2 separate regions of the Homo sapiens genome follow, and region 2 is linked to region 1. Evidence: promoter capture Hi-C in 16 types of primary human blood cells and fetal thymus (Javierre and others, 2016). All regions are on one chromosome and are shown on one strand. Each heading gives the region's core, a stretch centred on a gene start or on the middle of the fragment in contact. The rest is flanking DNA. Distances are from core to core; before and after follow the strand shown.

What was found. Contacts are between HindIII fragments. The CHiCAGO score rates a contact against its expected background, and 5 or more counts as called.
Region 2: a contact is called between a fragment that was not itself captured here and the fragment with the promoter of UPF3B in region 1, in 1 of 17 cell types (naive CD8 T cells). The highest score is 5.5, in naive CD8 T cells.

What each region holds. Positions count from the first base shown.
Region 1 is chrX:119,851,713-119,854,412 of GRCh38, reverse strand. UPF3B (UPF3B regulator of nonsense mediated mRNA decay) reads left to right here and starts at 1,450. Exons shown (of 11, transcript NM_080632.3): 1 at 1,450-1,640; 2 at 2,540-2,646. The coding sequence starts at 1,485. RefSeq lists an enhancer at 1,416-1,475. The HindIII fragment of the contact is 8,775 bases long and covers 1-2,700 here.
Region 2 is chrX:119,619,886-119,622,585 of GRCh38, reverse strand. It overlaps SEPTIN6 (septin 6), which reads left to right. Exons shown (of 11, transcript NM_145799.4): 11 at 2,535-2,700. Among named protein-coding and RNA genes, the nearest start is that of NKRF, 15 kb to the right of the region's middle. The HindIII fragment of the contact is 8,378 bases long and covers 1-2,700 here.

The sequences.
Region 1 (2,700 bases), core at 201-2,700:
AGCCTCCCAAATAGCTGGGACTACAGGCGCCTGCCACCATGCCCAGATAATTTTTGTATTTTAGTAGAGACAGGGTTTCACCAAGTTGGCCAGGCTGGTGTCGAACTCCTGATCTCAGGTGATCCGCCGGCCTCGGCCTCTCAAAGTGCTGGGATTACAGGAATGTGCCACCACGCCCTGCTAATTTTTTTTGTTTTTAGTAGAGACAGGGTTTCGCCAAGTTAGCCAGGCTGGTCTCGAACTCCTGACCTCAGGTGATCCACCCACCTTGGCCTCCTAAAGTGCTGGGATTACAGGCGTGAGCCACCACGCCTGGCCGACTGATCTGCTTTCTATCACTGTGGTTTTATTTTTCTAAAATTTCATATAAATGGAATTGTACAACATGTACTCTGTGTCTAGATTCTGTCACTCAACATAATCACTGTTAGATTCACATTTGGATTGTTTCCAGTTTGGAGTTATTATAAATAATGTAAAATTGGCCCTTTTTAAGTGAAGATGGTGATCGCAACTAAATCAAGTTGGGTTTTATTTTTATTCCCCTCCCTGTGGGACATCAGTACCTGGGGAGAAGGATCCTTTTGCTAAAATAAGGTGATGAAAACAAATCTTGTATATTTTAGTCATATTACTCCTTTAAATATCAGTATCTTGTGTTTATTTATTATTATCCTTCTTTTTTATATACAGGGTCTCGCTCTGTCGCCCAAGCTGGAGTGCAGCGGCGCGATCATGGCTCACTGCAGCCTCGAATTCCTGGGCTCAAGATCCTCTCTTCTCAACCTTCCCGAGCAGCTGGGACTACAGGCGTGCGCCACTGAACTCGGCTAATATTGTAGTATTTACTAAGTATCTGTAAATCCTAATCAATATAAGGAAAATAAAGTTTTTTAAATGTTAGGCTTTTTCTTTTAGTTGTAGGAAAATAAATGCTAAAGCCTCTGAATTCAATGATAAAAAATACAAGTCGCTCCCCTAGTGAGGCAAAATTTGGACGGCATTGAGTTTATCTGATGGAAACTAAGCGTGAAGAACCTATCTTTCGACCTGGAAAACTCTGAAGATGAAAGGATTCGATTTACTCACAAACAGGGACCCTGAGATAGCTCTGGCCCCTGAACGCCCAACAAAAGCGGGTAGCTGCTTTGTATGCCGGGATTTGTAGTCCCCGACAGAGTCACTTCAAGATGGCGGAATTGCTAATGACGCGCGAAGGGGCGGGCCCCGAGGGAGTCTGGGCCGCGAGGGGATTGGGTGGCGCAGGAACTTGGCGGGCGGGAAGTAAAAACCAGGTGTTAAAACCTTTGCACTGGGAAAGGCCCAAGTCTCGCGAGAGCTTGGCAGGACCCAATGGAACGTGGGGCCCGACTTATCACAAGGGGCATTTGTTGGGGGCGGAGCTTTGACGGGAGCTTCCCGGGAGCCGTTTGTGCCCGGGGTAACCCCGTTCCGGCCAAGCCGCTTCAGCGGGGGACGTAGCCATGAAGGAAGAGAAGGAGCACAGGCCTAAGGAGAAGCGAGTAACCCTGTTAACCCCCGCCGGGGCCACAGGCAGCGGTGGTGGGACCTCGGGGGACAGCTCCAAGGGGGAAGATAAGCAGGATCGCAACAAGGAGAAGAAAGAAGCGCTGAGCAAGGTGCCCGGTCGGCCGCTGGCCCGGGAGAGGGCGGGACGAGTCCGCAGCGCGGGGAGGATGGCTGGGAATGGGGCTGCCCCCTTTCTTTCTCAGGTTCTCCTTCTATCTCTTCGCCTGAATGGAAGTCGCATCATCCTGGTTCATCCATTCACCCGAAATGGGGAGAGCCCCTCCCGGCCAAATCCTGGGTGGGGGTGAGGAAAAGAGGGGACTCCCCAAACGGGAAGGGTTTAGGTCAGAGCTGTGAGATGATAATGGGAGGGAAGAGCGACGGTATAAAGAATGAGGAACTAAAGGTGTAATTGGGGAGAAATATTAAATAGTGAAGGAGACATGAGGGATGGGAATATTATTCATGGAGGCGAGTTGGGGGAGAGTGCAGGGTGATTAATGGTACAGGAGGGTAGATCGAGAGCATCCTATTTTGAGAGCAATGGGTAGATTTTTTGTATTCGTTAGAGTTTTGAATTCTTAAGTTCAATGGGCAAGGATTTTGTTTTAAGATGTGTTGGACGTGGGAGAAACTTGTTGCTAAATCAAGATTTCGTGGCACCCACAAAGACCAGCGTTGGCTTACTAAGTTATTGCCACTAGATCTGTTAAAAAATGGGTGATCGAAAATGATGCACAAACCTGGTAAACTGCAGGGCTGCTGTAAAGAGCAAAACCTGCGATTTTTCCTTGCTCCAGGTGGTTCTCATTTCCAAGGGTTTTTTTAAACCGCGTTACTATTATGTTTGACTAATTCTGAGCATTGGGCTGCAGAAGAATATTTTCTCCTGGGTTTTTACAAGTGATCTCATATTTTAAAGCCCAGCCTTCTTCAGGAACTGTGATTCTTTCAGGTATGACAGAAAACTGATTTGTACTAATTTTATTTTCCTTATGCATTTCTTAAGGTGGTAATTCGAAGATTACCTCCCACTTTGACCAAGGAGCAGCTTCAGGAACATCTTCAACCTATGCCTGAGCATGATTATTTTGAGTTTTTTTCTAATGATACGAGGTAAAAAAAAAAAAAAAAGGAAAGGGGTAAATGAAAAAGGTTTCTTTCATTCTT
Region 2 (2,700 bases), core at 198-2,697, 230 kb after region 1:
GGCAATTGGTAAACAGCTGGAACAGCCAACCCCAACCCCAAGTAGGTTGGCTCTTCCTGGCAGGATTCTCCCTGGCAGACCACGAAAGCAATTTCAGACCAACGAGTCAGGGGAGGCTTTGGCTCCCCAGGATCTGAAAGCAGCAAAGGCAACCCGCCCCCTCCTCAAAGCCCTCATTCAAGGGGTGGATCACGAAGGCCACCTAGAATGCAGGCAGAGTGAGGCTTACTGTGCCTCCACATTTTGAAATTGCTTGAGGCACTACTTATAGCTCTCTGCATTTGTAAAAGCGATTCCTTTGTGACCCCCTACATCGTTGCAGATACTCTACCTCAATCATTATTGGTCCTTAGGAGTGCACAGTATATGGATAGTATACACACATCAAAATACGTCAGCCTTCCCATGAAACCTAGAACATAGGCCATTGCAGTGTTTTTTAGATTACTCTTCCCCTAGGAAGTAGACAAAGAATAAAAATAAGATATGAGCATTTGTATAGCTTTTATTACTTTCCAAAGTGTTTTTTTTTGTTGTTGTTGTTTTGTTTTTGTTTTTGTCTTTTGTATAGTATCTCATTTTATACTTACAACAGGTCTGTGAGGTAGAGAAGGAATAATCCCCAGTTTGCAAGATGAGTAAATGGAAGCTGGGCGAGGTGGCTCACTTATGTAATCCTAGCACTTTGGGAGGCTGAGGTGGGAGGATCACTTGAGCCCAGGAGTTGGAGACCAGCCTGGGCAGCATGGTGAAACCCTATCTCTCTATTTTTTTTTTTTTTTTTTAAGAGAGTTGGCTGGGCATGATGGCTCACGCCTGTAATCCCAGCACTTTGGAAGGCCGAGGCAGGAGGATCACCCGAGGTCAGGAGTTCAATACCAGCCTGGCCAACATGGTGAAACCCTGTCTCTACTAAAAATACAAAAATTAGCTGGGCATGGTGGCGGGTGCCTATAATCCCAGCTACTTGGGAGGCTGAGGCAGGAGAATTGCTTGAACCCCAGAGGCGGCGGTTGCAGTGAGCCAAGATCGCACCATTGCACTCCAGCCTGGGTGACAGAGCAAGACTCCATCTCAAAAGAAATAAAAATACACACACACACACACACACACACACACACACACACACACACACACACCAGCTCTGGGCCCAGCTGTGACTCTTTGCAGCCACAGGCAAGTCTGTTGACTTCTCTGTGTTTCTTGGTCTACTCATATGAAATGGGGATCAGTTCTACTTGCTGTATTTATGTCACAGGAATGAAATTTACATGGAAGAGAGGTCAAAGTATTATTTAAGCACAAACCAATGATGGGTTTCCATAGTTCACATTTTCAGGTAACTGTGGTCTGGACCCTAGAACAGAGTTCTGCAATCATCCCCATATGCTCTGCAAACAGGTCTTGCCCCAGAGTACCAGTTAGCTGACTAGGACAGCTCTAAGGATCTCCTGGGGTGAAACCTCAGCCTCCTCTACTTTCCCAATGGGACAGGAAATGCAGTGGCTAGAGCCTGGGGCTCTATCCAGTGGCCTGAGGCCACTTAGAGATTTGTGGAAGGTATTCCTGTACAAGGTATTGGGTGGTGGTGCTGGGGGTGGGTGGTGGTGCTGGGGGTGGGTGGTGGGGGACACTAGTCAGGACCTAGTCATTAAGAAGAGATAGGCCGGGCTCAGTGCCTCACGCCAGTAATCCCAGCACTTTGGGAGGCTGAGGCGGGTGGATCACTTGAGGTCAGGAGTTCGAGACCAGCCTGGCCAACATGATGAAACCCCCGTCGCTACTAAAAATACAAAAATTAGCCGAGCGTGGTGGCAGGCGCCTGTAATCCCAGATACTCAGGAGGCTGAGGCAGGAGAATCGCTTGAAATTGGAAGATGGAGGTTGCAGTGAGCCAAGATCACGGCCACTGCACTCCAGCCTGGGCAAAAGACCAAAACTCCATCTCAACAACAACAACAAAAAAGAGCCGGGTGCAGTGGCTCACGCCTGTAATCCCAGCACTTTGGGAGGCCAAGGCGGGCAGATCATGAGGTCAGGAGATCGAGACCATCCTGGCTAACACGGTGAAACCCCGTCTCTACTAAAAATACAAAAAAATTAGCCGGGTGTGGCGGCGGGCTCCTGTAGTCCCAGCTGCTGGGGAGGCTGAGGCAGGAGAATGGCGTGAACCCGGGAGGCAGAGCTTGCAGCGAGCCGAGATCGCACCACTGCACTCCAGCCTGGGTGACAGAGCAAGACTCTGTCTCAAAAAAAAAAAAAAAAAGAAAGAAAGATAAAATGTATTTTTGTGGTTGTTGATCATTATTTTGCTGGCTAATGCCACTGCTGCCATCATGTGGGAGTGTGTGTGGAGTGTATGAGAGAGAAAGCATGTTCCCCGGAGCCAATGCAATAAGACCTTAAGACCATCTAACATAGCTATATTCTAATTTAGCCATTAGTCCTCATTACTTAATTTTCTTCTGACTTTTTTTTTTTTTTGGTACATTAATCTATCCATTCATTAACTCAGCTTCTCTTTTCATTTTCAGTTTGGGCTTCCTGTAGACACCCTTTTCCTGCGCAACAGAGCTGGGCCTCCCTTTCTCTAATTTCCCCCTTAACATGCCTGGGGGGCATACAATCCAACCCGCGCCCTCTCCTCTCTTCCTGCCAAGGTTTATAGAAACCTGAGAATCTGAGGGTGATGTCTGGCCG